Regions from separate parts of the Homo sapiens genome. Here region 1 is linked to region 2. Evidence: promoter capture Hi-C in human tissues and cell types (Jung and others, 2019). All regions are on one chromosome and are shown on one strand. Each heading gives the region's core, a stretch centred on a gene start or on the middle of the fragment in contact. The rest is flanking DNA. Distances are from core to core; before and after follow the strand shown.

What was found. Contacts are between HindIII fragments. The study calls those that stand out against the background at their distance.
Region 1: a fragment that was not itself captured here is called in contact with the fragment with the promoter of INTS6 in region 2 in 1 of the 25 tissues and cell types used here (lymphoblastoid cells).

Annotation. Positions count from the first base shown.
Region 1 is chr13:50,155,909-50,159,663 of GRCh38, reverse strand. The region is part of intron 2 of DLEU1 (deleted in lymphocytic leukemia 1); the gene reads right to left. Among named protein-coding and RNA genes, the nearest start is that of DLEU2, 32 kb to the right of the region's middle. The HindIII fragment of the contact is 5,908 bases long and covers 1-3,755 here.
Region 2 is chr13:51,451,638-51,455,833 of GRCh38, reverse strand. It overlaps INTS6 (integrator complex subunit 6), which reads left to right and starts at 2,798. Exons shown (of 18, transcript NM_012141.3): 1 at 2,798-3,419; 2 at 3,779-3,856. The coding sequence starts at 3,309. It overlaps INTS6-AS1 (INTS6 antisense RNA 1), which reads right to left and starts at 2,489. Exons shown (of 2, transcript NR_103812.1): 1 at 2,416-2,489; 2 at 1,118-1,831. RefSeq lists silencers at 2,033-2,352, 2,443-2,642, 2,873-3,132, 3,373-3,642, 3,653-3,772 and 2 more and an enhancer at 2,763-2,812. The HindIII fragment of the contact is 6,572 bases long and covers 1-4,196 here.

The DNA.
Region 1 (3,755 bases), core at 813-3,312, 1.3 Mb after region 2:
GCTGAAGTTCTTCAGGGCCACCTGGAACTCTTGTAGATCCATTAGCTGGATGTCCCAAGTTCTTCTCACACTGTGAGAACTGGACTGAGCTGTCACTGCCATTGCCGACTTACTAAACCCTCCAAAAATGCAGCAGAGTCTGAGGTCGTGATGACCACTCCTTCATGGATCCATGGCACAAATCATGAAATGAGAGAATTATTTCCCTTGAGTTTGAACTTGGCCTCAGAACTTCTCTTGAACCCCTTGACACCCTCAAGCAGCCTTGATCAAGCAGAATAAAGACTTCACAGGAAGTCTTTTCCCCATACCTGAGCTAAGGCCTTCTGATCTCCCATAAAGAGCTACTGTGAAGATCAAACTCCAAATTAGGCTGTGAAATGACCTATATTTGTCTTCTGTGACCCTTAAGCTCTCTTAACAAGAGTTATCCCCCTTGTTTCTAAACTGCCAAAGTTTCATGCTGTATGTCTTCCCCTGGCCTACCTCCCATGAATGTTCTCAGGATCTTTCTTCCTCCAACCTGGTTCTCTGTTAAGACCCTTCTTTCTTAGTTCCAAAGATAACTGCTCATTTAGGCTGACAAACTCACCAAATGTGCAAATGCTCCACAGGAACATATTTGCATTTTTGAAAGTCCCTTCTGGAAACAATGGCCGGAATGACACCAATGGGGGAAATTTCAGACCTTAATGTGAATTGGCTAGAGGAGAAATTTGGGGACCTGAAAGAGAAACTGCTCTCAGTCATATCTCCTTAATTTTCTGTCAACCCTTTTTCAACCAGTGACTGACCTGGGTCTTTTCTAGATCCATTTCAGCAAGCCTACTTAACCACCGTATAAGAACATAACCCATAAAACACCCTCAAATTCCCAACAGAAGCTAAGGTAGCTGAAAAAAGAAGTACCTGATTTCCATGGGCACATGTTAAGTGGAAAAGTTTGCTCCCTTCACCCAAAAAAAATCTTGCCTCTGCAAGCACTAGCCTGGTACCTTCCAGAAGGTGAATAAATTAACTTGCCAATACCACTTAAGGCAAATGGCTTAATGTTTTCACCAGATCTGACCAGGCCCCAACAACAAGGAGTGGGTGGAGATGAGCGTGTATTTTCATTTATTTCACGAGCCCTATTCTCTGTGGACTTGTAGTTTCTAAACCTAGGTACAAAAAAAAGCTTTAACTGCATGAGTAACTTTTGTTTTGTGGTACATTATTGTTCACTTTCAATAATGTAACTCAAAAATGACTTATAGGATTACAAGAATATGGTATAAAATTTCTAATACAATTCAATGACCCTTAAGCAAAAACATGATCACCATCAACTGAAGTTATCCTATACAATGGCAGGAAACTGTCAAGCCCAATTATGTGAAAATGCAAGAGAAATGTTTAGACAAGCTCCTCACCAAGACTTTCCATTGCTCATACAATAGAGGAGGATTAAGATCAAAACTATAATATTATATCAGTTTTATGATTATAAAATATGCTATTCAAGTTAGTTCAACGTAGCATTGTCTGTCCTAGTACATATATTAGGATAACATTATAATGTATTTCTAAGAGGCAAATCACAGAAGCCACTTACCAATCAAAATGTGTAACTCCAGGTGAAGCTAGACAAAATTATTGATACAAATTTTCTCCAGAAGAGTGATTTAGGAATGCAAAATACTCTAGACACACCACCCATCCACAGTTGGTGTGTCTTGCTTTATTAGATGCAATCCATTTCCTCAGACACTTGTTCAATTGAGGTCTTGTAAAACTATTAGATTAGCATTGGGCATATAGTAAGTGCACAAAGAAATTTGTTGTTGTTGTTGTTGTTGTTGTTGTTGTTGTTGTTGTTTTGAGACGGAGTCTCGCTCTGTCACCTAGGCTGGAGTGCAGTGACGCGATCTTGGTTCACTACAAGCTCTGCCTCCCGGGTTCACGCCATTCTCCTGCCTCAGCCTCCCGAGTAGCTGGGACTACAAGGGCCTACCCCCGTGCCCAGCTAATTTTTTTTTGTATTTTTAGTAGAGACAGGGTTTCATGAAAGAATGAATGAGTGAATTGTTGGATAGACTAAGTATCTTCAATAAATGCAGAAAATGCCAGTGTAGAACCATATTACACTTTCTTCAAAAATGCTATTCTACTCTGCTTGTTAATTATCTCCTTAAGATAATTTCACTTTTTTAAATGTTTTAAGGCATTTGTTTTACTAGCAATGAATTAAATGTTAGTTAAGAATCTGCACGTCTAATCCATTTAGATATAGCATGTATTTTCTTCCTAGTTCATACATCTCATAAAATGCAAAAAAAAAGTATAATCCTGCTAGCATAAGTCATTAGCAGACAAAGATAAAAACTCATGAGCTCTGTGTTTTATTTTATCTCACATTCTGCTTCATAGTCCAACCAAGTTTCATAATGAAAATTTTTCTCAGCCGACGCCTCAAATGCTTTATTCTTCAAATACAATTGATTTGACCAATATCGCTGTGGTTTGGAAATGTTTTTCTTCCTGTTGGTCTCTGCCATGATCTCCTCTGGATATAGTTCAATTAGATGCCTTCTCACTTTTTCACAAGTTGCCTGTTATTGTAAAAGTTTGGGAAAACTTTGAAAAAGAACTATAAAACGTTTTCACTGTCAATAGAAAAAAATGGATTGCTTGAGCCAGACACAGCTCCCCATAGAGCTAACCTTTTGATCCTGGAATCCTTTCATGCGCTTAAGTCTTCACTAGCGTCAATGGGAGTGTTGTGTATGCAAGGGCAGCAGGATCAAGTTCAGTCTCTTCTTTAGTACTCTGTAGCCAAGTGGGGTAGCCAGCTGAATCTGGTTTAGTTAAAAAAAAAAAAAAAAAAAAAAAAACACAACACTTTCCTGATGCTTTGAAGTTTTTTGGGCAGTGTAATAATATCAGGATTTGTAGGACGTTATTTTGCATAATCCTTAATAAGATATTCTTATGGCTTCAAAAAGTTAGTGGGTTAAGAGAAGCAAGAACCTCCAGCACTCATAGGAAATATTTTTTTAAGTTCTGGGTAGAAATGGCTCAAAATGCATCTCGGGAAGATACATAATTATAAGACTGTCCAAATGTGTGTTCAGGCAGGAATGCACCTAAAACTATTCTTCATAGATGGATTTCTACTCTATCTTTAAAAGATAGAGATATAATATAATAATCTCTCAAAAGCTCTGATGAAAACAAAGAAGCTTGCTGGAGGATTCTACTATGTGTGTGGATTAAGTAACTCTGTGACTAATCCAACTATTTGAATCAAAACAAGGCATTCCTTTAGAATCTTTATCACTCTAACCTCACACTCACTCACTGATGAGGACTTTTTTCCAGGCAAGGTCAAAGGGCTGACCAAGGTGATTCTGCACCACCAAATAGAAAGGAGGCTGGAGAAGGGAGAAGTGCAGCGGCAGGATACAGAAGCCACAAAATCTCTCTGCTGGAAGCCAGTTCACCTTATTATTACCAAGAAACTGAGGTTCACTTTCTGGCATTTTGGCCTGAGCATTAAAATTTTAAATTAACACCATTGAACACAACCTACTCTTTTTTTTAATGAGCATTTTATTGTCACTTTGTGGAAGGGTACTGAAACCTCTGATTTAGTATAATCATATGATTATGATTTATTCATATTGGGAATTCAGCAGCATGGGCAACAACAACTCGGGTCTGGGGGGAAAAAAAACAGCCTCACTAAATAAGGGATGGTCCCACCACTAAATATG
Region 2 (4,196 bases), core at 1,549-4,048:
CTGCATTCCCTGGTGCCAGCTGTGGAAGCTGCTTGCAGTACACCTGGACCAGCCACAGCCTTGCAAGGGGCCAGCCCCTAGAGCTGCCCGCCCTCCTGCAGCTGGCATGCCGGGCTGTATACAGTGGCCGGACCCCATGCTTGCTCGCTCACACACCCCTCGCTGCTCCGCACCTGGCTTGCACTTGGCAGGTGTGGGATCCAGGCCGTAGTATGAGCAGAGTGCAGCCTGCTGGGACTGGTGGGCAGAATGAGCCCGACCAAAATTCGGGCAGAGGTGCCATTTTTCCAGCTGGAAAAGTGACACTCCAAGGATCCTGTGACAATGGCTCCACTGAAAAATGATTTCGAATAACTGTAATAATAGGTAAGGTCATTGTGAACGCATGTTAATCTTCAGTAGTCTAGTTTGATTTCTTTCAAACATTGCTTCTACTTAGCAACGCAATTGAAAAATAAATCTCCAATTTATAGGGGAAAAAAAACCTCCATAGATTGGAATAAAGGCCCTCTACTGTCTAGATCTCACCTGTGTTTCTAGATCTTGTACTATTCTACATGCACCTGTTGCTCCAACCTAGCTGAACTTCACTGTTCCTCAGGAAGCCCTCAGCAATGCTGTCTTAACTTCCTTTCTTCACATTTTCAATGTCGGGAAGATCTTTTCACTAGCAGCTTCCCCTTCCTTTACCCATATCCAAATCCTACCAGTCCTTTAAGACAGTGTTTCTTAAAACTGAATAATGAACAGACTCCTAAAATAAATTCTTATGATCCTAGAGAATGTTTTCAGTAGGCTGGGGTCCACAGACCAGTTTGAAAAGCACAAATATAAAGAACTAAAGAGCAATTGTATAAAATTATGCAAATGATCAAGTTGAAAGACAAATTTCATCTTTATAACTGGTAAAATAACTCGTATTTTGCCATAGAACTCTGATTCTTATCTTCAGATCTATGATCCGTTTAAGAAACACTAAGGCAAAGCTGAAACCTTGGAAAATGTTCCTGCATCACCCCAAGGTAATACATTTTTATTTTTTCTGATTTGGTGTCTAACAACTTTCTGCCTTGGAGTAGCTAGTAATATGTAGCATTTTCCTAGAAAACATAAGCTCTTTGAAGACAGGGACCACATTTTATTTATTTTTTATATGCACCACACCTAATACACAGTACATCCTCAGCAAGTACTGGCTGTAAAGCCTATATTCCATGCTCTTATTTTGTAGTCCAAATCACTTTAAAAATCACACTTCTTCTATTGTTCATACTCATAGAAGAGCATATTACTCAAATAGCTCTGCTATAAATTAACAGTAAGTTTCAGAAGTTATACCAAGTCACGAGACTCAGATTTTTAAAAAGTGCCACAAAGTGTCTCTTCTGTGTCAATGTTAATAGAACCCTTTCTTTAAATGATCAGTAGGCAAATTAAGAATTTCCGGATAAAGAACAAACTCTGGAAAAACAAAGCTAGTGGGAGAGGCCCTGTAAATACCTACCTAGTCTTACAAGGGCTGTCTCTAACTCAGCTTGTATTTTAGGCAGCGTCTTCAGTTTTTCAACTAATGTGTTTGAGAAAACTGTTTTCCTCGGACATGCAGGCGTGGACTCCTTACTTCAGGTAAGGTGACAGCAGCTTGACAGAGAGTGCCTTCCCTCCCACGGCATTTGGGACGAGGCTGAAGGAAAGACACAGGCGGGGTTACGGGAAACCCATTCTCTGCGCCATCTGGGCAAGCTGAAGTCAGTTTTTCCGCTTTCTCACGAGGTAATGGATTATCATGGGCTCAGGTCCCCTTCAGCTCTGAAACAGGTATTCTATGGCTCTAAGTAAACACGGCAAGAGACAGGTTATTTCTTTGGTAAGATCAGTTGTATTTCCCAGAGAATAAAACGGGCAACAAACCATTTATCGATATGTGAGTCTTCCCCCTAGGCCCTAGCTATTTGGGGTTGGATAAAGAAAAAGAGGGTTTGCTTCCTTTTTGGCGGGTCCTCCAATGACAGGGCTCCTGGCCCGCTGCGGGTCCAACTCCCACCTCTCGTGGCTCCCCCGAGGCCGAGCGAGGCTCCGTGCGAGGACAGCCCCTCAACCGCACTCCCCAGAGGGAGCGCTGGGACTCGCGGAGGAGATTAGTCCCCGGTCATAAACAACCTCTCACTTCCCCTCCCCCGCCCGCGCCCGCTCGCGCCGGGGCGGCGCGCCGGGGCGGCCCTCCGAGGCCCAGGAACCTCCTCCGGCGCCCGCGAGGCCCCGAGTCCTCCTCCGGAGGGCGGCTGCGGGCCTGCCCTCTTCTCCTAACCAGGTGTTTGTCCACTTTACTCAACCCTTCTTACTCGTCCACGCTACGGCCACCTCACAGGGGCGGCTGACGCCAGCCCCTTTTTCCCTCCCCTCGACCCCTATCACCTCCAACAGCCAAGGAGAGGCCGGCGGCCCTGACGCGCAGGCTCACCGCCGCGGCCGCCCCGCGCGCGCGGACGCGGCCCCCGCCCCCACCTCGCGGTCCTTCCGCAGTCCGGCCCCGCCCCTTCCCGAAGCCCGCCTCCGGGTCGGCCCGCCCGCCCGCTCGCGCGCACCCGACGCCCCGCCTCTGCGCGTGCTCAATAACTGTCCCCGGAGCCGGCCTACAAGCTTCCCCCGCCCCTGAGCTGTTTAAATATGCTAATGAAAGGATAGGGCCTGACCAGTAGAACGGCGAGGCGGTGTATCACGTGGCTCGGGGACGTGTCAGGGGCGGAGCCTCCGCAGCCCCTGCCCGAGTTAAAACCGGAGTGTGAGAGAGAAAAGCGCTTCAGTAGCGAGAGGGGCTGAGAAAGTGGTGACACCGCCGGGGTGCGGAGGGAGTCCCTGAAACTTCTCCCAACAGCCCCAGGGCCAATCTTCCCTCAGCCCACTCCCCTCTTCGCCAGCTCCCAGGTCCCCACTCCTGTACCGGGGGTGGGGTGGGGAGCCAGGCCCGTCTCCCGCTGGGACACACACAGGGGCCGGGAGCGGGGACGGGACCCCCGAGGCGGGGGGGACGAACCGACAGACAGACGGCTGGGCGCCCGCCCCAGCGGGCAGGCAGGCAGGAGGAGGCGGAGGCGGGGGTACGACGGGGAGCACTGGGTCTGGGGAGTTTCCTCTCAACTATCGGGGGAGAAACTCCCCGCAGCCGGAGGAAAGACCCAGACAGTGTTTTCCTCCCGGGGGCCGTGCTCCCCCGCCCCGCGTAGCGGCGGTCGCCGCCACCGGCGCCTCCACCTCTACCATCTCCTCTTTCTCCACCACCTCGGGCCCCGGTGTCCCCGGCCAGCACTATGCCCATCTTACTGTTCCTGATAGACACGTCTGCCTCTATGAACCAGCGCAGCCATCTGGGCACCACCTACCTGGACACGGCCAAAGGCGCGGTAGAGACCTTCATGAAGGTACCGACTGACCGAGCCCGGGCGGCGACCCCGGCCCGGCGGCCCGCGGGCGGCAGGGTGGGGGAGGGCGGCCGGGGCGGGGGTGTCGGGGACCTGACTGCGGGAGCTGCCGGGCTCGGGGACCCCCTCCCCCACCGCGCGGGCGGGCGGGCGCTGCGAGCCGGGTTCGGCCGGGGCCCGGGCTCCGGCCCCGGGCGGTGTGTGGGGAGCGATCTGTGTGTGGGGGACGGCGTGGAGGGGTGGCCGCTGCGTGTGCGGTACTGTGGGGGCGGCGGGGCCGCTGGGCGCCCCTTCTCCGCCTCGTAACCTCGCCTCTGTGCTTCCCTGTCGCCCGCCCTGTTCCTCCTCCCGTCCCGCAGCTCCGTGCCCGGGACCCTGCCAGCAGAGGAGACAGGTATATGCTGGTCACTTTCGAAGAGCCGCCCTATGCTATCAAGGTAACAGCCCTCGCCCTCCCCCTTTCCTCCCTTCCCTTCCCTGTTCCTTCCTCGCTCGCCCTCCCCGCCCCCCCATTCACCCTTCATTATGCTCCCCTCCCCCACCCGCTGCGCTCCCAGCCGCTGAGGTCTCTTCCCTGCGGGCTCCCACCCCCTCCCCCGCTCGGCAGCGTCCTAGCGCGGCGCGGAGTCGCGGGGCCACCGCCGTCCCCTCCCGGCCCGGCCCGGCAGCGGCGGCGGCGGCGGCGGCGGCGGCGCTGCTATCAACATGGCCGACATTTCCCCTCCGCGGCGTGAGCGGCAGCAATGAACTGTGGGGGATATTTATTCAAGTTAGCCG